7 separate regions of the Homo sapiens genome follow, and regions 2, 3, 4, 5, 6 and 7 are each linked to region 1. Evidence: promoter capture Hi-C in 16 types of primary human blood cells and fetal thymus (Javierre and others, 2016). All regions are on one chromosome and are shown on one strand. Each heading gives the region's core, a stretch centred on a gene start or on the middle of the fragment in contact. The rest is flanking DNA. Distances are from core to core; before and after follow the strand shown.

The links. Contacts are between HindIII fragments. The CHiCAGO score rates a contact against its expected background, and 5 or more counts as called.
Region 2: a fragment that was not itself captured here is called in contact with the fragment with the promoter of ABCC12 in region 1 in 14 of 17 cell types (total B cells, naive CD8 T cells, non-activated CD4 T cells and 11 more); the score reaches 12.5 in total B cells.
Region 3: a contact is called between a fragment that was not itself captured here and the fragment with the promoter of ABCC12 in region 1, in 15 of 17 cell types (total CD8 T cells, total B cells, naive CD4 T cells and 12 more). The highest score is 11.7, in total CD8 T cells.
Region 4: a fragment that was not itself captured here is called in contact with the fragment with the promoter of ABCC12 in region 1 in 7 of 17 cell types (naive B cells, naive CD4 T cells, erythroblasts and 4 more); the score reaches 7.3 in naive B cells.
Region 5: a fragment that was not itself captured here is called in contact with the fragment with the promoter of ABCC12 in region 1 in 10 of 17 cell types (megakaryocytes, total CD8 T cells, non-activated CD4 T cells and 7 more); the score reaches 10.6 in megakaryocytes.
Region 6: a fragment that was not itself captured here is called in contact with the fragment with the promoter of ABCC12 in region 1 in 16 of 17 cell types (total CD8 T cells, naive CD4 T cells, naive B cells and 13 more); the score reaches 28.0 in total CD8 T cells.
Region 7: a contact is called between a fragment that was not itself captured here and the fragment with the promoter of ABCC12 in region 1, in 17 of 17 cell types (naive B cells, total B cells, naive CD8 T cells and 14 more). The highest score is 22.5, in naive B cells.

The regions. Positions count from the first base shown.
Region 1 is chr16:48,154,186-48,157,846 of GRCh38, forward strand. ABCC12 (ATP binding cassette subfamily C member 12) reads right to left here and starts at 1,808. Exons shown (of 31, transcript NM_001393797.1): 1 at 1,656-1,808. The HindIII fragment of the contact is 11,154 bases long and covers 1,648-3,661 here.
Region 2 is chr16:47,022,649-47,026,309 of GRCh38, forward strand. No RefSeq gene overlaps it. Among named protein-coding and RNA genes, the nearest start is that of DNAJA2-DT, 51 kb to the left of the region's middle. The HindIII fragment of the contact is 1,826 bases long and covers 1,077-2,902 here.
Region 3 is chr16:47,051,529-47,055,189 of GRCh38, forward strand. No RefSeq gene overlaps it. Among named protein-coding and RNA genes, the nearest start is that of DNAJA2-DT, 80 kb to the left of the region's middle. RefSeq lists a silencer at 1,256-1,456. The HindIII fragment of the contact is 2,699 bases long and covers 587-3,285 here.
Region 4 is chr16:47,077,045-47,080,705 of GRCh38, forward strand. It overlaps NETO2 (neuropilin and tolloid like 2), which reads right to left. Exons shown (of 9, transcript NM_018092.5): 9 at 659-3,661. Among named protein-coding and RNA genes, the nearest start is that of NETO2, 65 kb to the right of the region's middle. RefSeq lists an enhancer at 1,802-2,566. The HindIII fragment of the contact is 508 bases long and covers 1,396-1,903 here.
Region 5 is chr16:47,112,953-47,116,613 of GRCh38, forward strand. The region is part of intron 6 of NETO2 (neuropilin and tolloid like 2); the gene reads right to left. Among named protein-coding and RNA genes, the nearest start is that of NETO2, 29 kb to the right of the region's middle. The HindIII fragment of the contact is 412 bases long and covers 1,045-1,456 here.
Region 6 is chr16:47,129,883-47,133,543 of GRCh38, forward strand. It overlaps NETO2 (neuropilin and tolloid like 2), which reads right to left. Exons shown (of 9, transcript NM_018092.5): 2 at 2,087-2,143. Among named protein-coding and RNA genes, the nearest start is that of NETO2, 12 kb to the right of the region's middle. The HindIII fragment of the contact is 1,936 bases long and covers 764-2,699 here.
Region 7 is chr16:47,147,417-47,151,077 of GRCh38, forward strand. The region is part of intron 1 of ITFG1-AS1 (ITFG1 antisense RNA 1); the gene reads left to right. It also overlaps the pseudogene RPL23AP72. Among named protein-coding and RNA genes, the nearest start is that of ITFG1-AS1, 5.2 kb to the left of the region's middle. The HindIII fragment of the contact is 1,978 bases long and covers 977-2,954 here.

The sequences.
Region 1 (3,661 bases), core at 558-3,057:
GCTAGCAGGCAGGGGGTTCCTAACCTAACCTCAACAGACTGGACAGGCAGAAGCAGGAAGGCCTCTGTTTAGAGCACAGGACACAAAGACCATGTACAACTTGCAGTTCCATTTTATATGGCCTGCATAGTTTAAACATTTTTTTCCAATTTGTGGAAAACATTTAAAAATGAGGAGATACCACATTAAAAAAAAAATAAGACTGGCTTCTGGCTTTCGTCAAATATCAAGAGCTCTGTATGTTCATGTGGTGACAATCCACTTACGTTGAGCACGGCAGCCCCTCCTGGGCAGGGTATACATGCTTTAGTTTGCCACAATCCCCACCACTCCTTACTGTCTCTGTGACTCTGAGATTTGGGGTCATGTAACATTTATTATTGCATTGGCACTGCTGTCTTCCTTATAGTGTTTCCTGAGGCCTTTTTCTCTATCCTTGTCTCTGCCCCAAGAGAGAACAAAAGATGTCTAGAAGTCATCTCAAGAAGAACCATTTTCCACACCTGCCCACTTTGCTCTGTTATATTTCATTTCTGCCCCTGTCTAGCCCAGAAAATTAACAACTTTATGTTTGAGAACTGGACTCTGGGTCTTCCTTGGTGCTCATGATGGGAGTTCCTCCATCAACCAAAAGCAGGCACACCTTTAGTCATAAAATTTTTCCCAGGTATGAGACTACAGCCCTACTTCTTTCTTAATAAATCCATTGTTAATTTAAAGCCACCAAAGTTATCAATATCTGATGGTCTCCCCCAACTCCCACAGCCCCTTCCTCCAGGGCCTGACTGGCCTCCAGCACAGAGGAGACACTGGGGAGCTCTCCCAGGCCCTGCCTGCACCGCACCTCTCCTGTCTGTCCCCAGGTCCCAGGCACCTGTGGCAGCCAGATCAGAAAGCCCTGTGAGTGATGAGGGACTGGGGTTGGGAGGCAGGGAGAGGCAGAGAGGTGGCAGAGGGAAGTGCATGCAGGGGACAGCACCAAGCTGGGGGTGTGGGAAGGGAAGTGGGGGTGCTTTTGCTCAAGTACCCTCATCTCCCAGAAGGCCTAAAACAGTGGCCAGTGATGGCATCTCCAAAAGAGGTCATCCATCCAGTTACAGACACATTCCGACACGATCAAAGAAGGATGCAGAGCCTGGATTCAGAGCAATTCAAATCTACCCTCCCAGGAAAATAATATATTTAAAAGTTAAAAAAAAAAAAAAAAGAAAGAAAGATGAAAACCTCATATGAGAACTGCAGTAAAGCTTTCCAGGTCTTTTTTTTTGGGGGGGAGGTATAAATCCCATAATTAAATTGTGAACACTACCCTGTATATGTGTTTGTGTTTGTGCATGTGTGGGAAAAGACTTAAAATATTCAATGTAGGCTTTTGTATTTCAGAGATTTTGAAATCGCGTCTTGGCATTTCTGCCTTTTCTTTTATGATAGCGGGGGCTCCAAAAGTGGAAGAGGGGCTGCCTTTCTTCTGGGAGCCTCGTCCCTGCTGCCTCCCACTTGGGCAGCCCCATTCAGTGGTGTCACCTCCCCCAAACCCCCCACCACACACACACACAGCCTGTCCTGAGGATGAGAAACAAAGGCCCTTGGGACTAAATGGTGGCCACTAATTGTTACAGGGAGAAGCTTTACCTGGGCTGGAAATGAAGCTTTACCTGGGCTGAGGATGAGAGGGAGGGGAGGAGGGTCAGCAGTCATGGGGCTCAGAGCCTGGCATCTGCTGCCCAGGACTCCAGGGCCTGCTTCTCCCCAAGGACCTCAGATTCAGTTTCTCTTGTCCCACCCGCCTGAAGTCCTCCTCTCCAACTGCCCCATTCAACTGCCACTCCCACCACACCTGAGAGGGAACTCTGGCGGGCCAACATTCCCTCTGCCCACATTAAAGGGCTCTCCCCTCTTCCAGGATGGCCTGTGGCCGGGTCTGGCTCTTTGGTGACAGTCAGAGCCCATGCATGAAAGCACTGTGCATGGCCAGCCCTTCCCTGGCTGTCACAGCACATCCTTGTAGAAGAGAAGGAGAAAAATCCTCTCTCCAACCGTCATTCTACAGACGAGAAGCCCAAGGAACAGAAGCCTGTCCACGACTGGCGTGGGGCTGAGACCAGCACCCAGGTCCCCTGAGTCCCACTCCAGGCTCCTTCCTGAGAGAATGCATCGAATTTTCTACGCTGTGTTCCTGCAACCGGGAATCAACTTTGGGATCAGGGGAAGGGAAGGGAGGGGAGGGGAGGGCAGGGGTAGGGGAGGGCAGGGGTAGGGGAGGGCAGGGGAGGCGAGGGGAGGGGAGATGAGCCTCATCTTCAAAACAGAAAATCTCATTCATTCATTCCCCATTCATTTAACGAAAAAGAAAAGGGTAATTTGAGCTCAATTTGTCTTGAAATGAACGGAAGGTAAGTCTGAGACCTGCACTAGCAGCTAGCCCTTGCATAGAAAAGTTCCCCTGTGTCACCCTTGGAACCCTGCACATCCCGAGCGCAAGCGTGATTCCCGGGGTCCCTTCTGCGCCTGTCCCAGAACAAGCGCCCGATTTCAGGGGAGCCCAGCCGAAGGGTTCCACAGCGCTCAGCGAGCCGGCTGGGAGGGAGCAAACTCTCTAACTGCAGAAAAAAACAAATCTTGATTCCGCTTTAAGGGTTATTTAAACATCTTAGAGGACCTTCCCAGCCTCACGCACGTGGATTTCATGAGGAACTTGGCCGCTACCTTCTCCTGTCCTGCGCAATGCCGCCCCCTGCTGGCTGCCTTCCGGCCCCGCCGCTTCCTGGAGATGCGAATTCACCGCCTTTGCCCAACCTGAGTTCCCTTCCTACCTAGAGGGAGGTGGAAATGGAGAGGGGCTGTGGGCAGCTGTGTAGGAAAATGGGTCCTCCCAGGAAGGCTCCCCGGCCTGGGGAGTGAGCTAGACCGACAGCAGTTTCCTTACACGTGTCCAAAGTGTTCCATTTAATTTCCGTCCATTCTTCCCTTCATGAATGCAAATCACTGCTAATAATATCACTCGACATTTCTGGAGCCCTTTGTGTATCGCAAAATTCTTCATCCTCTTTATCACTTGATCTTCGCAACAACCCCGGGGGTCTCATAAACACAGCAAAGACTCGCTTCCACAATCTTCCAAACGGAGTCAAGTGCTGTCAAGTTTATGGAGGAAGAATGCCGATCAGTTTTCCTCTATCTCCATGAAAGGCTGGGCGGAGATGGATTTCCACCCAGACAAACAGTATTGGGCGCTACGCAAGAAGATTGGTGGGCCTAGCCGGAAACAGAGTGGAGAATGATGGAGAGGGACTGTCCGGTCTGTATCCAAGGAAGTCCTTAGGAAAAGACCAGCCAAGCTCCTGTTCCAGGCAGAGCGTGGACTCACCCATAGTCAGGGAACTGAGGCCCATCCTGGGTGTACACACAGCTCGCGGGGGGGCGAGATAATCCACTGGAATACAAAAAGAAAAAAAATAGAAATCCTTTTCATATTTCTCCTCTTCCTTTAAAAATTCTATTTTGGCTGTGTGCAGAGGCTCAGGCCTATAATCCCAGTACTGGGGGGCCAAGGCAGGTGGATCACTTGAGCCCAGGCATTCAAGACAAGCCTAGGCAACATGGTGAAACCCCATCTCTACTGAAAATACAAAAATTAGCTGGGCGTGGTGGCATGTGTCTG
Region 2 (3,661 bases), core at 740-3,239, 1.1 Mb before region 1:
TGGAGTTCTTTCCGGTTGGCCCTGGGGTCCCTGTGACCTGCCCACACGCCCCGATCTTTTTTGTTTTTTAAGCTCTTTTAAACTTTCTGGCATTGCAAGATGCTCCAGGCTTATCTTGTATTTGCCTTGCTCTACTTCTAGCATCAACCATTTCTCCAAGGAGCCCTGGTTCCTTTCATTGGAGAACACTGTTTAGCAAACAAGACTTGATATTGGCTGTGGTCATCACTACTGAGGCCCGCTCAGTGGGCAGAGCTGGGAAAAATGTACATGCATACCAACCCATGCATGCACACAAATCTATGATTATTTCTGTATCTAGGTGTTTGTGTCTATATTAAGCTAAAAATGAGCTCAGACTCATGTTAACCATCCTGTCTACTGTGTTCCTGTACAACAAGGACGTGAGCTTCCTATTTTCCAACATGGTCAAGGAAAGCAGTGTCCTGGTTCATCAACTCTTCTAGACAAATGAGTTACCAGATGTGACTTTTGTGTATGATCAATTTGCCAATAATTAAACTATAACGTTAAAATAATTTCTTTTATTTATTTATTTTTTTGAGACAGAGTCTCACTCTGTCGCCCAGGCTAGAGTGTGGTGGCTCGATCTTGGCCCACTGCAACCTCCGCCTCCCAGATTCAAGGGATTCTCCTGCCTCAGCCTCCCAAGTAGCTGAGATTACAGGCGCACGCCACCATGCCCGGCCAATTTTTGTATTTTTAGTAGAGACGAGGTTTCACCATGTTGGCCAGGCTGGTCTCAAACTCCTGACCTCAGGTGATCCGCCAGCCTTGGCCTCCCAAAGTGCTGGGATTACAGGCGTGAACCGCCACACCTGGCCTAAAATGATTTCTATGAAAATAGCAAACCTTTATATAGCACCTATTATGTGCCCAGAATGTATATTTATTCACTCATATAATCTTTGCAATCTTTCAAGTAGGTACTGTTATTATTCCAGTTTTACAGCTGAGGAAACTGAGATACAGAGAGGTTAATGTGCCTGCTATAGTTATGCAGCAAGTGGCAGAGCAGCCTGATGTCAGAGTCCACTCACTCCGCCTCCTTGGCAAGCTTCGTCTTTCTTTGAGGATTCAGGAGACACCTCAGAGTCATGATTCTGCGTATCAATTCTAAGTATTCTGCAGATGCATGACCAAGGTTATGGTTTATTGAACATCAAGTAACCAAGAGTTTTACTTTCTTTTTTGTTATATGGAGTTGTCATATTTTCCACAACGGGCACCTATTAATTTTATATTAAGAAAAAATGTAAACATTATACACACATTTAGAATAACAGGAGCTGTCTACTCCTCCCCACCTAGAGGTTCTCCCTCTATTTCCAATACTGGAAGATCAGGGTTTAATTTTATGAAGGTAGGGCAGGGCATGGGAGGTTCACTCGTGTAACTCCAGCACTTTGGGAGGTTGAGACAGGAGGATTGCATGAGCCCAGCAGTTCAGGACCAGCCCGAACAACATAGGGAGATCCTATCTCTACAAAAAAATGTGAAAAATTAGCTGGGTATGGTAGCAGGCGCCTGTGGTCCCAGCTACTTGGGATGCTGAGGCAGGAGGATTGTTGGAGCCAGGAGGTCAAGGCTGCACTGAGCTGTGCTCGTACCACTGCACTTCTGGGCAACAGAGTGAGACCCTGTCTCAAAAAAAAAAAATTGTGCTAAGGTAAAAAGTAAGTTTTTCTTATACTTGACAATATTTTCTTCTTTTGTGTGTGTGTGTGTGTGTGTGTGTGTGTGTGTGTGAAAAAGAACCTTGTATATATCTCATTTCCCTTTGGCTGTCAGGAAGCTCCATGTAACAATTACACGGTTTTTTTTTGGACAGAGTCTTGCTCTGTTGCCCAGGCTGGAGTGCAGTGGTGCAATCTCAGCTCACTGCAACCTCCACTTCCCAGGTTCAAGCAATTCTCCTGCCTCAGCCTCCTGAGTAGCTGGGATTACAGGCGTGTGCCACCACACTCAGCCAATTTTTGTATGTTTAGTAGAGATGGGGTTTCACCATGTTGGCCAGGCTGATCTCGAACTCCTGACCTCTTGATCCACCCACCTTGGCCTCCCAAAGTGCTGAGATTACAGGTGTGAGCCACTGTGCCCAGCCAATTACACAGGTTTTTATGGCCTACTCTAAATTTTTTTTGGTCTTAATTTATACTACTTAAAAAAAATAATGACTCTATGGGTTTCAGAAGATGATACAATGAACTAATGTGGATCCCCCTCTTCCTGCCAATAATAAATTTAAAAATATATTTTTTAGGCCAGGCACGGTGGCTCACGCCTGTAATCCCAGCACTTTGGGTGGCTGAGGTAGGCGGATCACTTGAGGTCAGAAATTAAGACTAGCCTGGCTAATATGGTGAAACCCTGTCTCTACTGAAAATACAAAAATTAGCCAGGTGTGGTGGCATGCACCTGTAATCCCAGCTACTTGGGAGGCTGAGGCAGAGGTTGCAGTGAGCCGAGATTAGGCTACTTGGGAGACAAAGCAATCTAGCCTGGGAGACAAAGCAAGACCCTGTCTTAAAAAAATTATATATATTTAAAAGTTCAAATCCATGGCCAAGCCATAAAGAAGAGAATTTCCCAGGTACCAGCCATGAAGGGCAGCTTGCACCAGAGTGGTACCCATGCGAGCTGGTGCCATGATGGCTTAGGGAGATAGTGGCCTAGATATCGGCCCAGATGGCTTATTAGCCATGGTGGGATAGGAGACCCAGCCTCCAGCGTGCAAATGGTGGGGAGCTGTAACTGGCCTCTGCTAAAATCTGAGGCCTGGAATGGCGGGACCACTGTGTCCAGGGGACTGAAAAACATTGCCTTCCTACCCAAGCATAGGAGTTAATTTTGCCATGGCTCTGGGTGAGAAAAGAAAAAAAGCTTCCTTGAGACTTTGAACCCCCAAACCTGTACCACACAAGGATGTGGAATCCAAATGGACTCTTCCTGCTTGCTGTGGCCATAAGGAGCCAATAAATAAACATGAAAACGAATCATAGTGTGGTGAAATACTGGGGTCCTGAGCAGAAGCAAACCTAGAGCTGCTCTATGGGGCCGTTTCCACATGCCAGAGCTCACGGGACACATGCTTGTGCACACACATGCACACACACGCGCGCATGCACAGGCACGCATGCACCCGCACACGCGCACACGTGCATACACACACGCGCACACACACGCACACATGCACACACACACGTGCTCACGAACACACACGTGCTCGCGAACACACACGCACACACATACACACACACATGCATATACACACTCACACATGAGAAAGATGCACTGGTATGAGAAATGGACCCACCATCAGAGGGGATCAGCAGACACAGCATCAAAAGGATGAGTGCCCTTGAGAATTTGAGATAATTGAACACTGTGAAGAATGACCGTATGGAAAAAGAATAGTCAGGTTTGCTGCAACACAGGAATCTCCGATTGAAGAAGCACTGTGAATGCTGAGTAGAAGGCATAAAACTTGGTGCACCCTTGAGGTATTTGTTTTGTCAATTCAGATTTTAATAAATTGAGTGTTCAAGTGGGGCCCACAGTACACAAATGGTGCTATCTGGAAGGCTTTGAGAACACCTTCGACCAGCCTTGACAAAACAGGTCACTGCTCTCCACAGGC
Region 3 (3,661 bases), core at 686-3,185, 1.1 Mb before region 1:
CCTCGACATGTGACCAGCTGATGCCCAGAGCTTGGTAGAGACTTCACACTGTTTCTAAAAAAAAAAACAAATCATCTTCTACAAAACGTCTATCTCCTGGTGTCACGAAGCCACGGACGACACCAGAAAAGGGTGGCCTGTGGAATGTGGCCTTCAGTTGGACACTGCCCTCGGAAATTTGTCCCCGACTCTATCCTTTTTTTTTTTTTTGAGATGGAGTCTCACTCTGTTGTCCGGGCTGGAGTGCAGTGGCGTGATCTCGGCTCACTGCAACCTCTGCCTCCTGGGTTCACGCCATTCTCCTGCCTCAGCCTCCTGAGTAGCTGGGACTACACGCACCTGCCACCACACCGGGCTAATTTTTTGTATTTTTAGTAGAGACGGGGTTTCACCGCAGTAGCCAGGATGGTCTCGATCTCCTGACCTCGTGATCTGCCTGCCTCGGCCTCCCAAAGTGCTGGGATTATATGTGTGAGCCACCACTCCCCACCTTCTATCCCATTCTAAGTGGTAAGTACTACAGCTGGAAAGGGGTAAGGCCAGGACCCTCCCCAGTGAGGACAGGGACTCTTTCCCCACTGTATGAAGCTTACTGCATCTGTCCCTGCTGCTGGACTCCAGCTTAAATGGTTAGCAAGAGGCCGGGCATGGTGGCTTACACCTGTAATCCCAACATTTTGGGAGGCTGAGGTGGGAGAATCGCTTGAACCCAGGAGTCCAAGACCAGTCTGGGCAATGTAGCAAGAACCCATCTCCACAAAAAAATAAAAATGTTGGCCAGGCACGGTGGCTCACGCCTGTAACCTCAATACTTTGGGAGGCCTAGGCCGGCAGATCATGAGGTCAGGAGATCGAGACCATCCTGGCTAATGTGGTGAAACCCCCGTCTCTATTAAAAATACAAAAAATTAGCCGGGTGTGGTGGTGGGTGCCTTTAGTTCCAGCTACTTGGGAGGCTGAGGCAGTAGAATGGCATGAACCTGGGAGGTGGAGCTTGCAGTGAGCGGAGATCGCGCCACTGCACTCCAGCCTGGTCAACAGAGTGAGACTCCGTCTCAAAAAAAAAAAAAAATGTTAGCCAGTTGTGGGACAGCACATGCCTGTCATCCCAGCTACTCTGGAGGGTGAGGTGGGAAGATCGCTTGAGCCCAGGAGTTGGAGGCTATAGTGAGCTGTGATTGTGCCATTGCACTCTGGGCAACATAGCAAGACACTGTCTCTAGAAAAAACAAAACAAAACAAAACAAAACAAAACAAAACAAAACAAAAAAAACAGCCAGCAAGAACTTTGTGAGCAGCCCCAGGTCCTGGCCTTGAGCCAGTCCTAGCAGGGAGAGAGGAAAAGGCTGAAGAGATGGCACACATGGTGGAAAAAGCTCAGCTTTAGGGGCCAGACAGGAGGCTTCAACTTGCAGTAACACTTCTGTTTGCCTGTGTGTCTGTCTGTCCACTTATCCATCCAATACCCAGCACCCGCTTTGTGTAGAAGTTTCTGGTGGAAAGTACTCGCAGACACTGAGGGGAGAGGCTGAATCCAGATAGCAGTTTTTCCCCTGGTGGGTTCACCACAGTCCCTGGTCCAACCCTCAGCCCCAGGCTCACAGTCTCTACCTGGTCAGCATCTCAGACTCAGGAAGGCCAATGCACACCTCCAGAACCCTCAGAGACAGAGGCAGAATATCTACTCACCGAGAGATCACCCGTGAAAATGAATACTGCCGGGTAGACCAGAGATCTGTATGGCCTGACCAGCCCTCTTTCCTTGCTGGCCAATGACATGGCAGGCCTGGGTTCATGGTGGGCACACGTGACGGAGGTCGGTTAGGGATTCCAGTGACTTGTGCCCTGGGAAGTGGTGGTCTTCTCCCAGTGTGGTCCTGCCTTCCTCCGGAACCCGTTAGGTCAAGCATTTCTTCTTTTAATGAACTGAGACAGGGCCACTTGCTCTGCTGGACACTGTTCTGGTCTGTCTCTGGCACTGGTTGCCCTCTCCTCTGCTTGCAGAGCTGGCCACCCCCTTCTCACAGACACATGCTGCCTTTATTTTTATTTATTTATTTTTTTGAGACAGAGTCTCGCTGCATTGCCCAGGCTGGAGTGCAGTGGCCACGATCTTGGCTCACTGCAACCTCCACCTCCTGGGTTCAAGCAATTTTCCTGCTTCAGCCTCCCGAGTAGCTTGGATCCCACCACGCACCACTAACTTTTTGGTATTTTTAGCAGTGACAGGGTTTCACCATGTTGGCCAGGCTGGTCTCAAACTCTTGACCTCAGGTGATCCACCTGCCTTGGCTTCCCAAAGTACTGGGATTACAGGCACGAGCCACCATACCTGGCTGGAACACATGCCGTCTTTAGACACGTTTTTGGTGCTCATAATAGGTCATGGTTGGCCTTGCTGTTTCTCTAGTGTGACAGCGCATGGTTCTGCTTTGCCCTGAGCTGATTTTATAGTTTAACTCTTGGAAAGAGACCTTTCTCTCTGTTTTCTTTTTCTTTTCTTTAATTTTCTTGAGGCGGGGTTTTGCTCTGTCGCCCAGGCTAAAGTGCAATGGCATGATCATAGCCACATGGCCTTGACCTCTTGGGCTCAAGCAATCATCCCGCCTCAGCTTCCTAGGTAGCTGGGACTACAGGAATGAGCCTCCATGCCTAGCTAATTTATATATATTTTTTTGTAGGCACGGGGTTTTACCATGCTGCCCAGGCAGGTCTCAAACTTCTGGGCTCAAGCAATCCTCCTGCCTTGGCCTCCCAAAACCTTAAGATTACAGGTGTGAGCCACTATGCCCATCCCTCCCTGTTTTCTAGTCTTCGAGGGCACCTTAATTCACTTCAAAACACACTCTCTTGGCACAAGGAACATGGAGGTGAACAGTACAGGTCTCTCCTGGCCTTCCTTACCGGTTGGGAGGGAAGGAAAGCCATGCCCTCGCTCATCCGGGCTTCCTTTCTGTGCACTGCAGGCAGATCATTTGCTTGCAAGGATGCAGGCTACCAAGGAAGCCATGGCCAGGCCTGGTGGGGAGCAGACGCCAGTAATGCTGCTGGGGCCACCGCTGTGGTATTCTGGGGTGCGAGGGCTTTGGCTCTCCTTCCCTTTGGGTGTCTTTCATTCTTGGGCTGTCCCTTCTGGGGAAAGGGAGTCCTAAGATTACTGATATTGTTAAGGGATCTTTGAGGAGGATGTTGATATTCTTCCTGGAAACTTCTGTGGCTCATGGGCCTTCACCTGAGTTCTAAATGAGGTACTCAGACAAGTGAAGGATGAAGAAGACAAAGAGAAGCTTTATTTAGTGTTAAAACAGCTCGGGAGATCCGCAGTGGGTAGCTCATCTCTGTAGGCAGGTTGCCCATCCAGTTCAGCTCTCAGCAGAGAGGAGGCCCTGGAAAGGGTAGCTCCTCTCCAGGAGGCTGGTTATTCCCACGTCTCTGCAGGTCTCTGAAGCTCTGAGCAGAAAGGATAGCCTCTCTCTGTAGCTGGTCTTCCTGTCCTCTCTCTGTCCTTCACCTTCTCTGCCCTGCTCTGGCCATCCTCTCTCTTGCTCTGGCTGAGCCCAGGGCTTTTATGTCGCTCAGAGGGGAGGAAGTGCATGCCCACTGGTCCATGGGTGGCCATGGGTGGGCCTGGAAGAGGCACCATGAGTCCGCACTCAGGTCC
Region 4 (3,661 bases), core at 400-2,899, 1.1 Mb before region 1:
AAGAATTCCCCTACTATTCACATAATTTTTTGGTTTGAAATTTGTGAATACTTCTCTACACCACCACTTAATAGGACCAATATTATCAATGGAAAAATAAAGCAAGATTTGGAAAGCATGGCTGAATACCTAGATTTCTGATGAAAATTCCTTTAGCAATCAACAACTACTCAAAATGTTTCAACATGCTTGTAATCCCAGCTCTCTGGGAGGCCAAGGCAGGATTGCTTGAGCCCAGGAGTTCGACACCAGCCTGGGTAACACAGTGAGACTTCATTTCTTAAAAAAAAAAAAAAAAAAATTCAGCTGGGCCAGGAGCAGTGGCTCACTCCTGTAATCCCAACATTTTGGGAGGCCTAGGCGGGCAGACTGCTTGAGCTCAGGAGTTCCAGACCAGCCTGGCAACATGGCCAAACCCTGTCTCTACAAAAATAATTTTAAAAAATTAGCCAGGTGTGGTGGTGCGTGCCTGTAGTCTCAGCTACTAGGCAGGCTAAAGCGGGAAGATCTCCTGAGCCCAAGAGGTCGAGGCTGCAGTGAGCTGAGATTGTGCCACTGCACTCCAACCTGGGTTACAAAGCAAGACTGCCTCAAAAGAAAAAAAGTTTCAATAAAATGTGTACTGGCTCAGAGGCCTAAATGGCATCAGATATTGTGGAGTATGACAAAGGTTGGAGGGTAAGAGAACTTTTAAATAACACTTGTTTCTTGATCCTAAATAACACAAAGTAAAATTGCTCTGTAACAATTTACAGAGACAGACCAGTGGTAAACCTTCTTTCTTCTTCCTCTGTGCCCTGATCTGTGCCTGATGCTTGTGAAACTCAGAGGAGTTTCTGCCTTCTTTTGCTCCCCACTCCGTGTTCACCTGTCTTGAGGTATACTCATCCATGTTTCTAAGCTGTGTTATGGCTGGTGCACTGTGCACCCCGAAAGAACAGCTTGGCTCTCCAGCCCACTCTGTGACAGTCCTCACTGCCTCTTCAGTGACCGGATGCAGCAGACTGCAACCTGCAGGCAACCTGGGACAAAACGCATTTTTTTCTTTAGTTCATCTTCACTTGAAGATTAATGAATTTGAAAACATAAAATGGTTCTAAGTGTAATAAAATAAAGTTGCCCTTATCATAACTAGGATTATTGTATTTTGGAAGCTAGTGGATAGGAAATGCCAACTTTGCCCCGGAAGGAAATACAGATTCTGTTGGTATAAGTGATCTAAATTATTTGCCACTTCTAGACTTTAGAAATTGAGGCAAGCAAGGAAATCAGAACAAGTTTTTAATTCTAGTTCAAGAGTCAAAATTCTTTTCTATAAAATGCCAAATCTAGGATTAAGCATATTCTCATATGGCCTGGAAGTTCATCTCTAATAAAAATCTACTGCTTTTAAAAAGCTTACACTAGACAGTGCATACTAAACATGCACCCTAGTCATTAGCTTTTTAGGCTTTGGTAGTCATTAAACCAATTGCAAAAATACATTTTTAAAAAGTTAAAGTAAAGCAAATTCAGAGTTTTGAATTATTAGCAGAGGTATATAAAACATAAGTGATTTTGCAGAAAACTAAAATATCCAAGATAATCTTGTTATTTACAGTAACTCAAACTCCAATCATTCTCCAAAACTCAAGAGATATGGCACACAAATATTTAATTTCTAGAATACACGTCTCCTTTAGATTTAAAAAAGATCAAAAAAGCAAGAACACAGGAGCTCTTCCTGCCTAGTATCGAGCCTGTATACTGTTAACAAACATTGCTTAGTAAGAATTCACGGTGCCAAGGAATCATGGCAGCAAAACTGTAGAACACAATGTTACATACATTTAAAGAAAAGGGGAAATATAATGCATTGAAGAAATTACAGAATAAATTACATTTCAATTCAGAATGATTGACAAGCTTACATGGGCTGCTAAACAGAAGTGCTTGACTTTTAAAACGTACAGCTGGGCTGGGCGCCTTGGCTCACTCCTGTAATCCCAGCACTTTGGGAGGCCGAGGCGGGCGGATCACGAGGTCAGGAGATCGAGACCATCCTGGCTAACATGGTGAAACCCCGTCTCTACTAAAAATACAAAAAATTAGCCGGGCATGGTGGCGGGCGCCTGTAGTCCCAGCTACTCGAGAGGCTGAGACAGGAGAATGGCATGAACCCGGGAGGCGGAGCTTGCAGTGAGCCGAGATCACGCCACTGCACTCTAGCCTGGGTGACAGAGCGAGACTCTGTCTCAAAAAACAAAAAAACAGAAAAACAAAAACAGAAGGCCAGGCGCGGTGGCTCACGCCTGTAATCCCAGCACTTTGGGAGGCCGAGGCGGGTGGATCACGAGGTCAGGAGATTGAGACTATCCTGGCTAACACGGTGAAACCCCGTCTCTACTAAAAATACAAGAAATTAGCCGGGCATGGTGTCGGGCGCCTGTAGTCCCAGCTACTTGGGAGACTGAGGCAGGAGAATAGCGTGAACCCGGGAGGCGGAGCTTGCAGTGAGCCGAGATCGCGCCACTGCACTCCAGCCTGGGCGACAGAGCGAGACTCCGTCTCAAAAAAGAAAAAAACCAGAGTACTGGGGTTCTTGAGACACTGGTGCTGAGTTCACTTCTGTGGGCTTCAGTCTTCTCATTCATACACTTGGGCTAGATAGGTCTTTCTTGGATCTTTAAAACCACCAAAAACTCAATGATCCTTCTGGGTCTAATCAGTGTGATTCAAGGCATATTATTTTTAATGTCATATAATTCATGTCACTTGCAATAAAGTGACATGAACAATATATAGCAGACCCCATTTTGCAATAAGAGTATAATCTCCTTTGAGAATTATTCCTGAAATCACAACCAGGCTTCTCCCGTCCCCTCTCATCAGTGAACACACTCCTCAAACAGGGAAGCATTCTTCTCATCAGACATTGGCAGAACCATACAAATGTTCAGAGGCAGACTTTCAGGAGGTTCTTTTAAAGTCTAACAATTCTATGAAACATGACAAAGACACTGACATAAGCGCTGTCGGGTTAAAGGAGTCTTTGAAATCTCTTTTGTGATGTGAAATGTGAACATTCTTTGCCTTTTGTTAAACGTTTAGATTGACACTCTCCCCACACACAAAAGGAATATCACATCTTATTCCTACATGCTTTAGATGTTGGGATTAGTAGGTTTCCTGCAATAGATCTGTGGGCATTTGGGGGATGATGCGGTGAATTGCAGATGGAAGATAATGGTGACAGTATTATACAGGTATACTTAATGCTGTTTCTGAATTGAAGATATTTATCCCTTCCAGATTTGCATTTTGTGTTCAACACTGGGACACTGTGTGGGGTACCCTGCGTGACAGTTAATACTGTGTAATGAATTCCACAAGATTGCTAAATTTCATGTCTTCTGTTATTAAATTTTATGGCTTTCATTTTAGTAAGCAATTTATAAAGTTTTCTCACTGATCTCAAAGATTAAAGGCTGTATATACAGCAATTAGCATTATTCTGGCAATAATGCCTAAGATTTATTAGTTCCATTCTTACCTCTTCCAAAAGCATAGAGAAGTTTAATAAATAAATGAGATCTAATGCCCATCTATGATTCAATGAAGGTGTATAACATGTGACAGGCTAAGGCTGGCTTAGCTATTGATCATCTGGTTCTTTAGTTCT
Region 5 (3,661 bases), core at 1-2,500, 1.0 Mb before region 1:
AAACCTCATACCAATTATAGAAATAAATCACTATGTATCCATTCTCCTATTGGGCATTTAGCTTGCTTCTACTTTTATAATTAGCTAATACTGCTGTAAACATTGTTGTCTTCTCTTTATGCACAGGTATGACGATTTCATTTGGGTATACATCTAGAAGTATACTTGTGTAGTAGCATGTGACCATTTTCAGCTTTACCAGAGCACATCCGAAATAGCTCTCCAAAGTGGTTGTACCAATTTATATACATTTTTCTCTTTACAGTTGAATTCTAACGAGACAATTTATACTTCTAAAGCAAATTCTTTGAGTCTGCTTGCTCTACTCAATCCACTACTCAGTCCTTGCTGACACTTCAAGAACAGTTCCACAACCCACTCAACTTCTCTTGTGCTGTCACTGTGCAGTCAAAATCCATCTCCAGTCTTCATCCCTGGTAAGCAATGATCTGTTCTTTGTCCTACAGTTCACTTTTTCCAGAATTTCATATAAATGAAATCACACAGCATGTATCCTTTGAGTCTAGCTCATTTTATTTAGCATGATGCATTTGGGGTTACTGCATGTAGCTGTAGTTTATCCCTTTTTATTGTTGAATAGATGTTACTATATGGATGTACCACAGTTTATTCTTTTTTTTTTTTTTTTTTTTTTGAGATGGAGTTTTTGCTCTTGTCGCCCAGGCTGGAGTGCAGTAGTGCAATCTTGGCTCACTGCAACCTCCGCCTCAAGGATTCAAGCAATTCTCCTGCCTCAGCCTCCCAAGTAGCTGGGATTACAGGCACCTGCCACCAGGCCCGGCTAATTTTTTGTATTTTCAGTAGAGACAGGGTTTCACCATGTTGGTCAAGCTACTCTTGAACTCCTGACCTCAAGTGATCCCCCCACCTCAGCCTCCCAAAGTGCTGGGATTATAGGCGTGAACCATCGCACCTGGCCTATTCTTTTAAAAGCTAAAGAACACTTGAAACATTTCTAGTTTTTGGTTATTACAGATAAAGTTGTTATGAACATTTACTTATAGGTTTTTTTCCATAAACATAAGCTTTCATTTCTCCCGGGTACCCATCCAGAAGAGACGGCTGAGTCACACAGTTACTTTATAGGAAACCACCAACCTGTTTCCCAGAGCGGCTCTATCATTTTGCACTCCTACCAGGACTGTATCAGAGTTTCAGCTGCTCTACATAGTTCCCAGCACTTAGTGATTTTTCTAAATTACAGTTATTCTAATGGAGAATAGTGCCATCTCATTGTGGTTTTAATTTGCATTTTTGTAATGATTAAATCTTCTGTGGTGAAGTATCTGTTGAAATCTGTTTCATAATTGGGTTTTGTTCTTATTGTTGAGTTTTGAGTTCTGGATGAAAGAAATCTTTTCATAGGTGATTTTTTTTCTCCCAGTCAGTGGCTTTTTTTTTTTTTTCTCACTCAACAGTGTCTTTCACAGAGAAAAGCTTTTTCATTAGTCCAATTTATAAATTTCTTTTTTTTTTTTTTTTTTTTTTTTTTTTTGAGATGGAGTCTCGCTCTGTTGCCCAGGCTGGAGTGCAGTGGCATGATCTCGGCTCACTGCAAGCTCCGCCTCCCGGGTTCATGCCAGTCTCCTGCCTCAGCCTCCTGAGTAGCTGGGACTACAGGCCCCCGCCACCATGCCCAACTAATTTTTTGTATTTTTAGTAGAGACGGGGTTTTACCGTGTTAGCCAGGATGGCCTCGATTTCCCGACCTCGAGATCCGCCCGCCTCAGCCTCCCAAAGTGCTGGGATTACAGATGTGAGCCACCGCGCCCAGCCTGAATTTTTCTTTTATGGATACTCTTTCGGTGTTGCATCTAAGAACTCTTTGTCTAACCCAGTAAGATTCTTTTCATATATTCTCCTCTAAATGTTTTATAATTTTACATCTATGTCCATGATTTATTTTGAGTTAATTTTTAAATACAGTGTTGGATGTAGGTGAGGCAACACCTACACTCAACAGGTGAGGGTTCATTTTTTTTTTCTTTGAATATGGAGGTTCAATTGTTCCAGCACCATCTGTTAGACTATCCTTTCTCCACTCAATTTCCTTTGAATGTCAAAAAAATTAACAAATCATATTTGCAGAAATCTAATCTCTGGACTATCTTGTTCCATTGATCTGTGTGTCTGTCCTTTGTCAGTACCACAGTCTTGGTTACTGAAGCTTCACATTAAGTCTTGAAATCAGGTCATGAGTCTTCCATGTTTGTTCTTTTTCAGAATAATTTTGGCTTCTGTAATCCCTTGCTTTTCCATTACATTCTAGAATCAGTTTGTCAATCTTTACAAAAAATATAGCTGTGATTTTGATTGAAATTGTATTCATCTGTGTAGATCATTTTCATAAGAACTGACATTTTAGCACTACTGGGCCTATCAATACATTGACACAGTATATTTACTTAGGTCATCTCTGAATATTTTCATTATGGTCTTTTAAGTTTTCAGTTAACAGATACTACACAGTTTTTTTTGGTGGAGTAATATTTTAAATGGTACTGTTTTCTTAATTTTGAACTACAGTTTTCATTGCTAGTATATAAAAATTCAACTGATTTTTTTTTTTCTTGAGACAGGGTCTCAGTTTGTTGTCCAGGCTGGAGTGCAGTGGTGCGCTCTTGGCTCACTGCAGCCTCCGCCTCCTTGGCTTAAGTGATCCTCCTGCCTCAGCCTCCCGGGTAGCTGGGACTACAGCTGCAGCCACCATGCCCGGCTAATTTTTATATATATATATATACATATATATATATATATACATGTATATATATATATTTTGTAGGGGCTGGGTTTCGTCAGGTTGCCCAGGCTGGTCTTGAACTCCTGAGTTCAAGCAATCCACCTGCCTTGGTCTCCCAAAATGTTGGGATTACAGGCGGGAGCCACAGTGCCTGACCTGCAATTGATTTTTGTATACTGGTCTTCCATCCTGCAACCTTGTTAACCTGATATATTTGTTCCAGGAGCTTTTCAGATGCTATGGAAATTTTTATATAGACAACGATATCTTCAAAAAGATTGATTTCTTCTTTTTCCAATCTGTATGCTTTTTTGTACTGGCTACAACTTCTAGTATAACATTGAATAGGACTTAGCTTGCTACAGATTTTGAAGGGGAAAGAATTCAGGTTTTCACCACTAAGTATGGTGTCAGCTGTAGGGTTTTCTGTTTTTTTTTTTTTTTTCTAAGAGACAGGCTCTTACTATGATGTCCAGGCTGGCCTTGAACTCCTGAGCTCAAGTGATTCTCAATCCTCTTGTATCAGCCTCCTTAACAGCTGGAACTATGGATGCATGCCATTGTGCCTGGTTTAGCTGGTAGGTTTTTGTAGATACCCTTCTTCAGGTTATGGAAGTCTCATCTGTTCCTATGTTTCTGAGATTTTTATCATGAATGGGTGATGAATTTTAACAAATGGAGACAATCATAGTTTTCTTTAGTCTTTATGGTGAATTACATTGATTTTTCAAATGTTGAACCAGACTTGCATTCCTGAGATAAACCACGCTTTACTATTATGTATTTTTTTATATTGCTGAATTAGATTTGCTAATATTTTATTGAAATTTTTGCATCTATTTTCTTGACGAATACTGATCAATAGTTTCCTTATAATGTCTCTTTGTCTGTTGGTATCAG
Region 6 (3,661 bases), core at 482-2,981, 1.0 Mb before region 1:
GGGTAGATATAGCAGTAACAACTGGCAGTACCAGGAAGTGGGGTTGGGGGTGGTGAGTGAAATTGGGCTTTTTAAAAACACGAGGCTAGTTAAAAGTCTGTTTAGAATGAGTTGGATTTTCAGTACCCTTTCCTCCTCCACAAATCTAGCAGCTCTACAACCACATCAGAACACTAAAGGTGATTTCTTTGGAGAAGGTAAAACAACAGGGTTACTGGACTAGGGGACACCAGGAACAGTTGAGAACGAAAACAGGGAGACGAGTGAATGTTAGCACATGTCCCAGCCTTCGTTTCCTGCTTAACTCCCACAAAGGCCTCCTGGTCAGATATTGAGCCTTTAAGCAGGAAAAGAAAAGATTCTTCTCTGGGAGTCGAAACAGCCCCTAGGAAAGGCTTGATGCAGATGCAGGAGTTCCCCAGTGTCAGATCTGTCAACAGTGAGAGCCAGTAACTGATCCTTGCCCACACCTGCAGACAGTTAACGATCAGTTTTTAGTGCCCCTCTTAAAATATGAGCCCTCAAGGATCACCAGACATTGGAGGAAAATCTCTAATATAAATAAATAAATAAATAATAATAATAATAAAACTGGAGAAAAGCAACTCTGAGGAGATAAAGACTATGCAAGAAAAATATTTAAAAACCACCACCACCACAAAACAATCATTTAATATCCTGAGAAAGAAAAGCAAGTAAATCTATAAGACAAAAACAAAGATACTGTACAAACAATATTATATTCAGAAAACAGAACCAAAAAAGCTTCCAAAAACAGAAGAGATGAAAAAATCAGCAGAACATTTAGAGCAGAGTTCAGCAAACTATGACCCTGGGCCAAACATGACCTGGAGCCTGCTGTAAATAAAGTTTTACTGGAATATACCCATCCCCATCATTTGTGTGCTTTTGTTCCAGGACAGAAGAGTTGAGGAATTTGAAGAGTTGCTTCAGAGACTGTAGGACCTACAGCGCCTTAAACACTTACGATCTGACCCTTTACAGAAAAAGTGTTCTAACTCCTGGTTTAGAGGTAAAGTTGAGGAAGTCTCAGCGAATGTGGAGCAAAAAGATGGAAAACAGAAGAGCCAGAAACAAAAACCAAGAGGGCCATAACCAAGTAAAATAATAGAATTCCTGAAAAGGCAAAAGAGAGAAAATGGAGGAAAGGGAATTTTAAAAATTAAAACAGAAAAAAAAAAAAAAGATTTCCTAAAGATAAAATTCAGCTGAATGAGTGACTTAATGTAAATCCTGAATACTGAGTTAACCAGAATTATGACAGAACTGTGTTGAGAAGGGTGCTACAAATGCAAGGTACGAGAACACTCAAATATGGATGGGGTGGACGGTAGGTGCGTGAAAGAGCTAAATTCTCATCTTCCACGGTGAAAAATCATTATCTAATTTATAAAACTGAAATAACCAAGAAGTAGCAATACAGCATGTTATTTAGAGAAAGGAAGGGAAATACCAAAAGAATCAGCTAAGAGTGATTATTTCCATGGAGCAGGAAGTTAAGTAGGGCAAGATGGGGAACTCATTTTTCCTAATTAACTTTTTAGGAATGCTTTGATTTTTATCATGTGTATGTATTACTTAGATGAAAATAAAAAACAAACAACATTACACTGGAAATGTACTAAATTCAGACATAAAAATCTGGCTAAAAAAAATCACACTAGCTAATCATCAAACATAAATCAAGACAAAAGAACAGAACCAAAGGACTTTGAATAAGATATTAATTGAAGTGTTTCATTTGTTTAAATTAGAAAAAGGGACTTTTATTTTTGCTTAGTGATAAAATATAAATCTCCTTTAATTTTTGGACATAATCCACAGTATGCTAGGAGCTACTAGTGATGTCAATTTTAAAAATTTATCAGGGCAAGACTTTATGCTGACAATTTAGTTAACTGCAGCTAAACTCAGTTAAATTGAGGCTGATGGGTTGACAGAAAGCCTTAGGTCACTGGAACACCCCAAAGGGATTATGAAAATAGTACCCAAAAGTTGCAATCCTTTCAAATAAGCCAGTCCATTGTCTTAAACATGCAGTAAGTCACCAATGTAAGTACTTTACCTTGGGTTTTTTGGGCCACGGCAATCCCTTCCACTACCAGTACTGTTATTAACAACACTAGAGAAATAACAGAGAAGAAAAGTTATGAAATTGAATCTATACTACATTTTACTAAGTCAATAAATAAAATTGGATGACAAAAAAAGATTAACTAAAATCACTATTTATTACTCAAAATTCACTCTCAAGATCTTTAAGCATTAAATGTTATGTTCTGATTTGCTACCTAACCCTTAAGATAACCCAAGAAAAGACAAGTGGTTTTGTACTCATTTATAAGCATTTAATAATACATGGCATTGAAAGCATTTTTCAACTTAATAGTTTTGTTTAAAAAAAAAAAAACACTTGTTTTTTGCAACAGACCTTGCTCATCCTAACTATTCCTCTATTTACTGTAGTCCATCTCAAAGTTTACATGCAGTATAGCTGGCTCTGCAGTGTGCTATGGCAGTGAAAGTTCAATTAGATTATATCTGTTTTCTGAGAACATTCTTAATCAAGACAGAAGTAAGGGGGCAGCAGTCTCCTAGAAATCAATTCAAACTGTCTTATCATTGTGCAGTACTATGCTGTGCTCTGTGCTACAAAGGCTAGCCATATTTAACACTGAAGCTTTTTTCCATGTTGAACATTTCTGAGACCCAATCAACAACATATTGAATTGTTTTGTGTATGTGGTTTGAAGATTTAAAGAAACATTTTCATGGATGCTGCACTCTCCCTTTCAAAGGAAACCACACTGCCAGCCTGTCCCGAACTACTGCGTGAACTGGAGTTATTCATTCAGTGAATAGGCACTTACAGAGTATCCACTGAAGAGCGGGCACCAAGGATGCACAGGTGTGGAGAGAGAAATCGAGCAAAATGGTTAAGAGTATGGACTTAAGGAGTTTCATGAATCTAGGCTAGGGTTCAAGTTTTGCCTTCTACCAGCTGTGAGGCCTTTTCAGCTCAGTTTACTTATTTGTAAAATGGAGATGACGTATAAATAGGTCAACCTCATTGGTGGTTGTGAAGATTAAATGAGATAATGTATATAGTATTTTTATGTGCCAGACATTCTGCTAAATAAATGATGGATATTAGGACAAACCAGCATCCACAAGGAATCAATGTATTGTTGAATCTACAATACAAGGTGAAACGGAGTTTAACAGGAGATATGCAGAAGGCATAATGGAAGCAGAAGGTCCATTCTGCTGGGGGTTAAGGGAAATAGAATGAGGAAAACTCCCAAAAAAGAAGGCATACTCTGGTTGGACCTTACAGTCCTTGAGCCCAGGAAAAGGAGAAAGAAACAGCTTAAATAAGAACATGGAGGGCAGGGCGCTGGTGGCTCATGCCTGCAAATCCCAACACCTTGGGAGGCTGAGGCGAGAGGATTGCTTGAGCCCAGGAGTTCCAGAGGCCCTGTCTCTACGGAAAAAAAAAAAAAAATTAGCCAGGCATGGTGGCATGTGCCTATAGTCCTAGCCACTTGGGAGGCTGAGGCAGGAGGATCACTAGTGCCCAGGAGTTAAGAGGCTGCAGTGAGCCATGATCGTGCCACTGCACTACTGCCTGGGCGAAAGA
Region 7 (3,661 bases), core at 716-3,215, 1.0 Mb before region 1:
TGTTTCAGCTACCCAGTCTATGGTATTTTGTTGTGGCAGGCTGAACCAGCTAATACAGAGATTATAACTAAGGAAGGTAGAGGAATTTAAAAAGAACCAAACTTTTATGTGCAGAAACTATTTGTAGTAAAATATAATATGGATCTTTACAGGGTGCAAATATGGCTACAGCAATGGTGACATTTAGTGAAAAACAATCAGGTGGGTTCTCAGTATATGAAGATTTCAGTGTTTATTACACAACTGTAGGGTTTTTTTTAGGGAAGGAAGAGAGGAAAATTGTAATTTTTAAAAAGTGCATTCTGTTAGTCTGCTCAGGCTGCCATGGCAGAATTACAGTGTAGCTATAGACTGGGTGGCTTATAGTGTAGAAATGTATTTTCTCACAGTTCTGGAGGCTGGTTTCTGCTGAGGCCTCTCTCCTGGCTTGCGGACCGTTACCTTCTCACTGTGTCTTCAGCGGCCTTTTACTCTTTCTGTGTGCACCCCTGGTCTCTTCCTCTTCTAATAAGGACACCAGTCCTATTGGATTAGGGTCCAACCCTTCTGACCTCATTTAACCTTAACTATTTCCTTAAAGGCCCTGTCTCCAAAAAGTTATATAGAGGGATAGGGCTTCGACATGTGAATTTGCGGGAAACACAATTCAGCCCATAAAATGCAAGAGCCACAATCATTCCTGTGTTATTGATATTGAAGAAGAGCTGTCAGGGGGTCAAAGAATTCTTTCAGTAACACTGTCCCCTAAACTTCTAAATTTCTGGTTAGCATAATTTTAAAGAACGCTTTTAAGAAATATTGCTTCCTATTAATATAAAATATTTCATCTTTACCAGGAAAATTTCAAATTGTCAAGAAAATTTCTGGTCATTAGTTACTTTCCTTTGATTGTGAAAAACTAAGAAATGCCCTAATTTTAGTCATGTGCTGCATAATGACCTTTTGGTGGATGATGGACCACATACACAACTGTATAAGCTTATAATACCATATTTTTACTGTGCCTTTTCTATGTTTAGATATCATTAGATATACAAATACTTACCATTGTGTGTAGGAAGTAATTGCCTACACTATTCAGTACAGTCACTTGCTGTACAGGTTTGTAGCATAGGAATAATACGATAAACTGTAGAGCCTAGGTGTGTAATAGGCTACACCATCTAGGTTTGTGTAAGGACACTCTATGAAGTTTGCACAATGATGCATTTCTTAGAATGTATGTCTGTCATTAAGTGACATATGACTGTGTATTTCTTAGAATAAAGTTACTAACATATATGGTATCTTTTTTTTTTCTTTAAAACCAAAATCCCATGTTGAAAAGAGATATGTTTGCTTAAACCTATTTACTTTCTAACCTGGTGTTCTTTCATTGAAATCAACACCCCCTCCTCCAAAAAAAAAAACCTATTTACTAAAAGCTGAAACAAATGCTAGTTTATTGGTGTAGTATGAAACCATAAGTGTAAATTCTTGATGCAGTTATTTGGTAATGTTTGTTAAATAATAAAAATTGTTAAAAGGCCTTTCATATTCCTCTGCTCTGTGGTGTTACCTCCTTCCTGAATCAGACTTCCATGTGTATGAGTCTTTCTCTGCACTCTCTAATATGTTCCATTGGTCTGTCTATCTCTTCACCAATACCGCACTCTGTTAATCACCCTAACTTTTTCTTTCTTGAGACAGAGTTTCGCTCTTGTTGTCCAGGCTGGAGTGCAATGGCATGATTGGGTCACTGCAACCTCTGCCTCTTGGGTTCAAGCAATTCTCCTGCCTCAAGCCTCCCGAGTAGCTGGGATTACAGGCTTGTGCCATGACGCCCGGCTAATTTTTGTATTGTTAGTGGAGACAGGGTTTCACCATGTTGGCCAGGCTGGTCTCGAACTCAGATGATCCACCCGCCTCGGCCTCCCAAAGTGCTGGGATTACAGGCGTGAGCCACCATGCCTGGCCTAATCACCCTAACTTTATTATTTTGTTACCTGGTAGAGCAGGTCCTTATTCTTTTTCAAGATTGTCTTGGCTGTTCTTGGTCTCTTATATTTCCGTGTACATTTTAGAAACCTCTTAGCAAGCTCGGCAACACAACACCCCGTTGGGATGAGTGGAATTGGGAGGGCTTTGACATCTTTACAATTTTGAGTCTTCCTGTCCATTAACATGGTTACAGATGTGCATTTATTGAAAATTTCCTTAGCGTTTCTCAGAGAAGTTTTATAATTTACCAGACAGAGATGTATGCTACATCTTGTGTTATACTAATTCCCAGGTACTTGACTTTTTCGATGCTGTTATAAATGTTACCTGTTTTTAAATCCCATTTTCTAATTGTTCATGCTGGCGTATAAAAATGCAATTGATTTTAGAAAGTGCCAAACTGTTCTCTAGAGTGGCTTTCCTATTTTGCATCCCCACCAGCAATATATGAAAATTCTAGTTTTTCCTCATCCACATTAGCACTTTGAATTGTCAGTATTCTTTGTTTTATCCATGAAAGCACTTTTTATTCATGATAGATGTGTATTGGTATCTCTTCATAGTTTTAGTATTCATTTCCCTAATGGCATATCCGGTTGAACATCTTTTCATATGCTTGTTTGCTACCTATATATCCTCTTCAGTGAAGTATCCTCAAATTATTGCCCACTCAAATTGTTTTTTATTTTTACTGGTGAAAAGATGTCCATTTAGAATTAGCCAGCTGGACTCAGTTTAGATGATTCCAATTTTGTTGGCAACATCCAAAGCATCATAAGCAGGAGCCAGTCAAACACACGCCTTCTCTCCATTGGGCCTGATTGATCAGGCTACATCAGTGTTGCAGAGCTTCCCCACATCCTGTTTGCTCTGGTGCTTGTTGGCTTTGCCATCCACGGTGACCTCAAGTGTGTTGTTATCTTCTGTCTTCTTCATGGCACACTCAATGCTCAGGGAATCGGGCAGAGTGATGAAGCTTGTTTCTCCTGGGGGCACTCTTCTGAGGATATCTGGGTTGTCTCTAGAGCTGTAGTGTTTTGGGGTGCTGGAAGGTGGGTGAAGTGCAGATACTCCTTTTTGTGTGTGGCTGTGGATGCTTTCCAGCACTGCCTTCTTGGCCTTCAAAGCTTTTGCTTTGGTTTCAGCTTTGGGAGAGGCAGGAGCTTCCTTAGGTGTCATCTTGTCTGAGTTTTTGTATTGTTGAGTTTTGAGAGTTCTTTATAGATTCAGGATACAAGTCTGTTGTTGGATATGTGATTTGAAAATATTTTCTTGGCCGGGCATGGTGGCTTATGCCTATAATCCCAGCACTTTAGGAGGCTGAAGCGGGTGGATCACTTGAGGTCAGCAGTTCGAGACCAACCTGACCAACATGGTGAAACCCCATCTTTACTAAAAACACAAAAATTAGCCAGGCATGGTGTCACACACCTGTAGTCCCAGCTACTTGGGAGGCTGAGGCAGGACAATTGCTTGAACCTGGGAGGCAGAGGCTGCAGTGAGCCGAGATCACACCACTGCACTCCAGCCTGGGTGACAGAGCAAGACTCCATCTCAAAAAAAAAATTTTTTTTTCTTTGCATATATAGCTTGTCCATTCTCTTGGAAGTGTCTTTGTCAAAGCAAACATTTTTAATTTAGATGAAGTCACATTTATCAGTTTTTAAAAAGAATCATAACT